Regions from separate parts of the Homo sapiens genome. Here region 2 is linked to region 1. Evidence: promoter capture Hi-C in 16 types of primary human blood cells and fetal thymus (Javierre and others, 2016). All regions are on one chromosome and are shown on one strand. Each heading gives the region's core, a stretch centred on a gene start or on the middle of the fragment in contact. The rest is flanking DNA. Distances are from core to core; before and after follow the strand shown. Region 1 holds the start of CYYR1 (cysteine and tyrosine rich 1). Region 2 overlaps APP (amyloid beta precursor protein).

Region 1 (4,675 bases), core at 319-2,818:
TATTCCCTTGCAGCACTGCATTTACAGGAAAAAATTCCTGGAAGAGAACTGACTAAATTAAGTACATGTGTATTTGAATTTTCGTACATATAACCACACCGTTTCCCTTAAGAGTTCATTTGGTTTTGTATTTGGTTGGTTTGATACATGAAAAGTGATGTCTCACTGTCAATTTTATTTCTATATTTATATTTATTTGTTTTGTATGAAGTGTCTATTAATATCCTTCCTCAGTTATCTCTTGGTTGTTTTTCCTATTGATTTTTTTAAGCTCAGTATAATAATGAGATTAGGACTTTGCATTGCAAATATTTTTGCCAGTTAAATGTCTGCCAACTGGAAGTATTAATTCTTATTTAGTCAAGTTGGTCAATATTTTGTTTTATGGTTTCTGAGTTTTTTATAATGCTTAGAAAAGGCTTCCCTATTCCACAATTATTTGAATGTTATCCTCTTATTTTTTAATCTAATATTTTCATAGTTGTATCTTAAATATGTAATTCATATAGAACTGATTTTGATGTAAAAAGATAAGGCTCCACAGATGGCTATTTACGGCCTCAACACTTTTCACTGAGTAACTCATCATTTCCCCTACTACTTTACATTGATATTTCTTTAAACCATAAATTAAATTGCTGTACATACTCATGTCTACTTTTGGGTTACCTTTTCTCTTTCACTAAGCCTATCTATTCCAATGTTAATCTAAACTGTTTTAATTATTGTGATATTATATGTAATATCCCATTCATTATTCCCATTCATTACTCTTGTTTTAAATAGATATTCTTACATATTTATTTTCCATATAAACTTTAGAATCAGATTGGTTTGAAAAAAATCATGTTATTTTAAAAATTGGGATCAATTTTATTTCCAAATGTATATAATAATTTGGGGAATCTTGTTGTCTTTATCCTACTAAATTTTCTTAGTGAAAAAAGTATCTCTTTACTTATTCGTATCATTTTTTTTCCTTCATGCATAACATTGAGAACTTTCTGATTTTTGTTTGCAGGAAAGAAAACTATTGGTTTGCTAAACAAGAGCTTTATAGTTGATTAACTTTGATTTTCCATGTATACACGTATTTCATTTGCTAATGACAATTTAGCTTTCATTTTTCATAAATCTTTTTCTTTCTCTTGTTTAATTGCATAGGCCAGTAACTCCAAAACGTCAAAATCATAACGACAGTGTGCACTGTTGTGTTTTTTTTTTCTGAATTTACAGGAAAAAATAATAAACATTTTATCAGCTTTCAGCAGAGATGCCATACACTTTCTGTACTTCCCAATCCTGAGTTTTCTTCACTGTCACTCTTTGTCGAATACCTTCAACCCTGAAAATTCCTTCCCTTTGTTTAAAGATAAAAAGCAAAGTTGTTCATCCATTGCTTAGAAAGGAAAAATTGTAGTGGAGGCAAGGTTAAAAAGGAGCAGGCTGAACTCCATAGCAATCGCCAAAGCAAGGGGTTAGGAAAAGTTTCTTGGTCCCCTAGTCACTCTTTAGAAGGAAGAACCCGGGCTTGGGGAGGAGTCGGGGCCACCCCCGCCCCCTGCCCGCAGTCGTTGCCACCCGCGGAGATGAAATGTGAGCCTGGGTGGCCAAGGACGCCGGAGTGGCCGCCTTCCCCGCGCCTGAGCGCAGTGGGGCGAGACAAAGAGACCTGGGCCCCCAGCGCAGCCCGTCTCGGGCCACGGGCGCCCCAGCTCCGCGGAGTCCCGCAGTCGCTGGCCCGGGACGCGCCCGGCCCGGGCTCCCTTGGAAGGCTCCCTAGGCAATGGCCGGGTCTCTGCTCCACCCGGCTCTCAGGAGCGCTGCTCTCTCCATCTGATCGCCCTCCATCCTCCCCATTCCCTCCGGTTCCGGGCTCTCCCTTCGCTCCAAGCCTCAGGCCACCGGCTTGGATGGACGCTCCGAGGCTACCCGTGCGTCCAGGGGTCTTGCTTCCGAAGTTGGTCCTGCTCTTTGTCTACGCAGGTCAGTGACGGAGGGCGGCGGAGAGGGTCAGAGGCTCGGGGCTGCCCTTGGGTCACGGTCCGGGCTAACGTGGGTTGAGCTGGACGGACCGGGACCTTTGCAGAAGGACCTTTGCAGACGCTTCTGCCTTTTCCGCGAGGCGACGGCAGAAACCCGCGCACTTCCAGCCGCACGCGGTTTTGTTTTGTTCCTTTTCCTTTAACTTTTACCTTTTGCATTTCTTTTCTTTCCCTTTCCACCTTGGAAATAGCAGTCTCGTGTTTAGGGGATTTGACTCTCTGGATAGAGTAAACTATATCCAAATAAACTTATCTGGATAGGCTAGGCAGTGGCCTCTCCATCTTCTGCTTTCTAAATAGTCCTGGTTTTCCCTCTTGTGAATAAAAAAAACTTAGAGCTTTGTTTTCGTTCTTTGGGAGATTCACAAGTGTGGTAGACTGAGCTATTGGACTGAAGTCAAACACAAGGTTTTTGAGAAGCATGAATTCACCCAGGGTCTAATCTGTACAGGTTCGTTGATTTAGATAGACACTTGTTTATAAGAGAAGGGCATCTGGTTTCCCTTCTAATTATTCGTAGTAAGAACTGCTAATAATTAACGAAGCAAAGTGGGTTTTCTTGTTTGTGATTAATATGGAGCCCCAAATGGCCTTTCATTGGTTATTCAGGTATAAAGTGTCTTACACACGTGGTCTTTGCATCAGTTCATATTCACAAAACAATGCAAGCTAAAAGCAAAGTTCTTTGTAAAATGTTTTTGTGTCTCTAACGTCCTATGACAAAAATCGCAGGCTCACCCCTGAGCCTCCAATACGAAATGTATATATAGCACTGAAATTTACCTTTGATACTCAAAAAGATATTGCAACTGAAATGATGTTCTTCAGTGTTGCACCTGAGTATTAAAAGAATTGAATTTCTCATTCAACCTTGCTAGAAAAGAGTCACCATAACTTCTGTAGACATTTTTAGCCTGTTTATTGAAATGCAAATTAGTGGCTGTCTAGGAGTTACCATTTTAAAGATGTTTTATGGCAGGAAAAATGCTGACCTTCTAATATGAAAATTCATAAAAGTAGGATAAGTTCTTCGTATTTAATGAAGAGAATTACATTTAATCTGTTTACAACATTTATTTCTTTTATTAAATTTGTATAAGGTTTTCAGAATTTGAGGGATTAACAGAGTCAACTGCATTAATATTCATTTTCTATTGAAAAAATCTCTTTATTAGTTCTTTCGAAGTAATTATGCTTTTCACTTCCTCTGCTCGACAATATTTAATACTTTCACTCACACTTATTCAACCACTCCATTGAACCACAATTTTGTTTGTTTGTTTGTTTGTTTATTATATTCCCTGTGGTAAACTGAAAGCTTCTGCTTTACACATCTGCCCCCTCCTCCTGTTTCCCCAGTGCTAGGTGCCCAGCTCCTCAGGGCTCAGGAAATCAGCGAAGCTGGCCAGCAACAAGGGTGGTTAGTTTAGAAAGTTTTCAGTCCATTCATTTCTCTTCTTTGGAATCCCTCTATCATAAGCTACAAAGTAGTTGTAAGCCAGTGCTAAGTTGACTTACTATCTTTGCTAAGAAGTGTTTAGCTAATAAGCTCTTTGGTGTCAATTCCTGGACTTGTTATTCAGAGGCCTTTTTATGCTTTTCATATTCATTCAACTATTACTTACTGAGTGAGGTATGTTGAGCCGTAAGAGGTCATGTTCTTATCAGTCTTCTCTGGGAACTACGGTATGATCATAAGTTACTTTAAGGTATAAAAGGTTGTGTCATAGGAGAGGTAAAATCACGTGCTATAGATGTTCAAAGAAGAAAGTCTTACTGCTGGCTTAAAAGAGTAAGCTTCATGAGGACAATGTCTATTTTGTTCAGCAAAAAGATCAATCAGTATTTGCTCAGGAAAACTGAATTGAAGAAGACTTGAAGGAACTAGACCTTTGAAAAATATAGACGCCCTGAACCCAACGAGACGGAGTGGGATATAGTAGGATATCGTGTGATCAAAGTCAAAAATCAAGATCTGTACATGCAACAAAGGATATTTCAGTTTGGTTGGAACTAAGAGGTATGGCTAGAAGTAAGGGTTGAGGTTAGATGCTGGAACACCACAGAAGTCAAAATAGTTCATACTATTAAATGAATTGCCAGCTTTGTGGGACAAAAATCTAAGTAGATGCACTGCTCATAATCTAAATTATTTTCCCCAAAGCAAATGCATTAGATTCACATTTCATTTGGCTAAACAAATAAGAGCAAGGTTTCTATACCTGAAGCATCATGTTGTACTATAGAGTTACTTTTGGAAGGAGACCCAGTGAAGTGTTGATATTATTGTCTGACTCCCACTGCAGGCTACAAAGACAGGATTCGGTCAAGGTTTTACCTTCCGGGCCTCAGCCAGTAACTTCTGTCTCCTCCCTTTCCTTCCTCTCTTATCTTAGCTATAGCTTGCAAGGGCCATTTCTAAGCAAGTGCTTCAAGCCAGATACTGCTTTTCCTGTTCTGCGCATTCCTTAAGGTGGGAGGCAGGGTGAGTTGGGAGTCAGGGGTGAGTTGGGGAACCTTCTTCCAGACCACACCTTTCAGCAAAAAGTCATTGAAGAAAGTTTAAGTTGGCTGATTTTCAGGGATACTAACTTGGACATTAGAAGTAATATTATTTATCTTCTGAAGAC
Region 2 (4,905 bases), core at 815-3,314, 670 kb after region 1:
TCTTTCTAGGTTTGAAAGAAATTAAACGGTAGGGTCCCTGCTCTCAGGAGCTTGAGGTATAATAGAAGGAATTTTGCATATTTGGAAACATGAGATGGAATTTGGAAGACAAGGAAATACAAAGCAACATTAAGTGCTAACAAGAATGTTCTGTGATGGGAGGAGATGGAGTACTAACCCAGGGGCATGTTAAGTAGAGAACTTACTGGAGATGGGCTTCCAGAGAGGTTATGAAAGATTTGAGGCACCTGGATTGGCAAAGAAGAAGGGAACAATTCTATTCAGAAGAGAGGGTGGCCTAAGCCAAGCTTCCTTTCATACACAGCGTAGGCTTGGGTTGCCCAGTAAGATGGCTAAAGTTGAGAAAGAATGCTCAGATATGAAGTGAGGAAGATTCTAGTTAAGGTTTGTCTATGAATAGCAGTATTTACTGCACATGTATTAAGCCATGCGTGTGTTCTGTTTTTGTGCTTGTAGTAAGTTTATCAAACATTTGGGCTAATTTCCCCGTGTTTTGTAGCATAGCTTTGGTTCTTCTTCACATTTTAGAGACCACCCACTTGAGTCTAATGTGCCGAATTATATCTTTAGCCTTTCCAAACTTAGAAAGCCTTCCCAAGATTGTCATGCCGTTCAAGTGATGGCATTGTTTTTGAATAATCACTGTTGTCCTCAGAAACAAGTTAAAAAAAGGTTTTTGTTTTTCCCCCACCCAGTGCTTTATAATCATGACTGAGGAAAATGGCTTCTCCTTAACTCTCATATCTAAAAAAACAGAATATGGTAGCTTCCAGCATGCAGTGTCAAGTAGGGACCATTGTAATAACAGTGGTGATTTGGGGGCATAGTGGCCATTATAGCTCCTCCTCCTGGCTTACTTCCAAAGAAAAAATAGACTCTGAAGGACTAATTATACAGTTTGACCAGAATAAAAAAGAAAAACACATTAGCGAGCTCTTCACATAGGGTAGAAAGCTACCCTTTCTGTTACAATTCATCACCACCCTTCTGCAGTCCAAATAAAGGGAAACCAGGTCCTTGACCCGAGCCATGCAAGAGGTGTCATGAAGGACATACCTCCCTTAGCCCCCACATGAACAAAAGGCTCTGTCCACTCATCATGACTTACAGGAAGAGAGAGCTGGAGTCACCAGGGCTTAGGGTGAAATCAGCACAACTCAAGAAAGACCTCTAAGTAAGCCTGCAAACCAAGGTCCCTGCCATTTATTTGAAACTACTCATCACATTTTATTACATGCATTATCACCTTATTATGAATATTTCCCTATGTGCCAGCTTACTGATTTTGTCTTTTAGTAAGATTTGCTTAATGTAAAAAGTCTTCCCTAGATGACTATTCATGCTAAACAAACATGAACTATTATAGCAAGAGCTCTTCTGCCAAGAGCTTCTCAAACTATTGAGCTGTAAACATGAATTTATCTGTCATGCTGACTTGATAATATGAATTTTTTTTTTTGGACCACCAAAAGTATTCACAGTATCATTTCAAAAGTAGTGTGGGCTTGTAAAGTTTTTAGTGGAGAGCTCTTGGTTTTGTTTTTTTTTTTTTTTTTTTTTTAAAACAGGATTTGTCTCTGTTTCCAGGCTGGAGAACAGTGGCATGATACCAGCTCACTGCAACCCCCATTTCCTGGGCTAAAGCTATCCTCCCACCTAAGTTTCCCATGCAGCTGGGATTACAGGGATGTGCCACCACACCTGGCTCATTTTTGTATTTTTAGTAGAGACAGAGTTTTGCCATATTGGCTAGGCTGGTCTCGAACTCCTGAGTTCAAACTGTTTGCCCGCCTCAGCCTCCCAAAGGCTGGGATTACAGGCATGAGTCACTGCACCTGGCCGAGAGCTCATTCTTTTTTTTTTTTTTTTTGAGATGGAGTCTCACTCTGTCGCCCAGGCTGGAGTGCAGTGGCACGAATCTCGGCTCACTGCAAGCTCTGCCTCCTGGGTTCACACCATTCTCCTGCCTAAGCCTCTAGTAGCTGGGACTACAGGTGCCTGCCACCACGTCCGGCTAATTTTTTGTATTTTTAGTAGAGACGGGGTTTCACCATGGTCTTGATCTCTTGACCTCGTGATCCTCCCGCCTCGGCCTCCCAAAGTGCTGGGATTACAGGTGTGAGCCACTGTGCCCGGCCAGAGCTCATTCTTTACTTTTATTTTTCAGTATAAATATTTGGCTCCAAAATCTAAAAGGGAAGACTCTTCAAACTGTTCAAGAAAGTTTTCTTAAAAATCTCAGAAATATAGTTCTAACCTATTGTGTTGCTAGATCTTTTATTTATTTATTTATTTTTGGAGACAGAGTCTCATTCTGTCACCCAGGCTGGAGTGCAGTGGCACAATCTCAGCTCACTGCAACCTCCACCTGCCGGGTTCAAGCGATTCTTATGCCTCAGCCTTCTGGAGTAGCTGGGATTACAGGCACCCGCCACCACACCTGGCTAATTTTTTTTTTTTTTTTTTTTTTTTTTTTTTTGTATTTTTAGTAGAGACAGGGTTTCACCATGTTGACCAGGCTGGTCTCAAACTCCTGACCTCAAGTGATCCACCCAGCTTGGCCTCCCAAAGTGCTGGGATTACAGGCGTGAGCCACCGTGCTTGGCACGTTGCCAGATCTTAATAACAGAAAAGGAGTGAGCTCTAAAGAAATCACTGGTTATATAAGGATCTCAGATTTAAAAGGGCTATAGAAAGATTAAAATATACAGCCAGTGAGAATTAAGAGAGTTTTAGCATCACTACCCTATAAAAATAAGTGTCAGAAAGGTTCGTTTCAGCAGAATGAGTTGAAACTTAACCAAAAAATACTTAACAATATTAAAGTAAGAAAATAAATAAGAATAGAGAACTCTGTGGGTCTCGTAGCAAGAAGTTGGGGGTTGAGGGTTAGGTCATTGAGAGGACCAGAGTTAAAGAATGAGAAAGGGAAACTGTCCCACTTCCATTGTGCCTTTTATGTCTATATTAAAGAGAATGAACTTCTGATGAAAGGAAATTAAAGCCCGAGATAGATCAACATGAGAAAAGAAAGCCCTAGCCCATTAGTTACCTATTGCTACGTAGCAAATAACGCGAGAATTTAGCAGCTTAAAACAACAAGCATTAGTTTCTTACAGTTTTTATAGGTCAGGATTTGGGATGTGGTTTAGCTGGATGGTTCTGGCACAGTGTCCGTCATGTGGTTGCAGTTAAGACACTGCCTGAGCTAAAGTCATCTGAAGGTTTGATTGGACCTGGTGGGTCTGTTTCCAACGTGGCTCACTCACGTCACTGTTACTAAGAGACCTCAGTATCTTACCATGTGAACTCTGTAATGCTGCTTGAGCGTCCCTACAACATGGCATCTCGCACCCCTGCACCAAGAGGTCCAGGAAAGAGATTAAGGAAGTTTTAGTGCCTTTTTTGGCCCAGTCTCAGAAGTCATACACCATCACTTCTATCATGCTCTGTTCACTAGAGCAAGTCACTACATCCCGACCACATTCGAAGGAAGGGAATCAAGTTCTCCCTCTTGAAGGAAGGAGTATCAGCAAATTTGTGGATATATTTTAAACTATGACATCTTGCTACCCAAGTCCAAGTTCTTATGACCCAGACCAACTGCAGGCTAAGAGAACTTGAAGGGGAAGTAGCACCATTGCCTGTGGTCTTTGTGGAAAGCTGGGAAGGTAGGGATAGGAAAATGAAGTTCTGAATAGCAAAAAGGAGAGAAGATAGCTTCACAATCTGTAAGCCAGGTATAGAGTGACATTGATTGTGGGTCTCTTTTCAAATAGGTTATCAAGTGGAAGCTTTTTGAACAATTGGATGAGGAAATGGTGCTAGGTCACAACCAGCGTGGATTTCCTAGGTTTTGTCAGATTATCCTTACCTTCTCCTTGTATAGGCTGTGCTCTTAGACTGGCACATCATATGCTGTGGACATTGTGCTTTTCAGTGTCAGCAAGATGTGTCACAAGTTTCCCAGAATCTCGTAGACAAGATTGAAAGAGTGATTAGGCCAAGAGCAGGAAGTGAATTCCCCTGGGAGCCAAAGGAATTGGGAATGTGTAGCCCAAGTAAGACAAGAACCAGCAGGAACATGCCTCTCCTTAGGGTCGTGATACCTGTTCAAGGTTTTAATGTGGAAGGGAGGATTAGGCTTGCTCTGTGTTGAATCAGGCTCAAAGGATGGAAGTTACAGGGAAGCTGATTCTGGCTTCATGTAAAAAAAGGACAGTTTGGGCAGGCAAATCTATCAAAAAATGGAGGGAAATTGATACATTCCTCTATGTTCAAACAGGAACTGACAATCTGCCCCTGGGTGGGAACACGGTAGAGAAGATGACTTCAAAAGCCCTTTTCATCCTAAAATTCTGATGTTTGATAATTAAATGTTATAGCATGGACACTGACATTTACATTTTTTACTTATGTTTTTGGTTTTTAAATGACTCTGCATTTTGTTTTAAGCTTCAAATTATTATTTGAATAATGAAATTCATCAGAACAATTAGTGTTAAGAATCATATAGCAATTTATAGAAAAGGAAGAGTTCGTAGGTTATAAATTCTGTTAGTTGCTAAGAAGCATTTTTAAAATTATGTACTATAGCTCTTTATTCAGCAGACGAACCAATTACAATCTGTGTAACTAGAACACTTGACTAAAATTATATAATTTTTACAACGCTTCACTGCATAGATACATGAACATAATTTATTTGTAATTGGAACAAAGCCCCAAAGTAGCAGTTTTGTTCTACCAGGTAATTAATGCTCATTTTTAAAGCCTTTTATTATTATTTCTGAAGTAATGAGTGCACATGGAAAAAGACACATAATAGGCTAAACAATAAGCCCGTAAGCCAAGCCAACATATTCCAGGAACAAATCCTTGCCA

Evidence for each region. The method cuts DNA at HindIII sites, captures the fragments that hold promoters and counts their contacts. A CHiCAGO score of 5 or more calls a contact.
Region 2: a contact is called between a fragment that was not itself captured here and the fragment with the promoter of CYYR1 in region 1, in 5 of 17 cell types (M0 macrophages, naive B cells, M2 macrophages and 2 more). The highest score is 8.0, in M0 macrophages.

The regions. Positions count from the first base shown.
Region 1 is chr21:26,570,179-26,574,853 of GRCh38, reverse strand. CYYR1 (cysteine and tyrosine rich 1) reads left to right here and starts at 1,568. Exons shown (of 4, transcript NM_001320768.2): 1 at 1,568-1,986. The coding sequence starts at 1,914. The HindIII fragment of the contact is 4,187 bases long and covers 1-3,365 here.
Region 2 is chr21:25,897,974-25,902,878 of GRCh38, reverse strand. All of the region lies in intron 15 of APP (amyloid beta precursor protein), which reads left to right. Among named protein-coding and RNA genes, the nearest start is that of GABPA, 170 kb to the right of the region's middle. The HindIII fragment of the contact is 3,507 bases long and covers 311-3,817 here.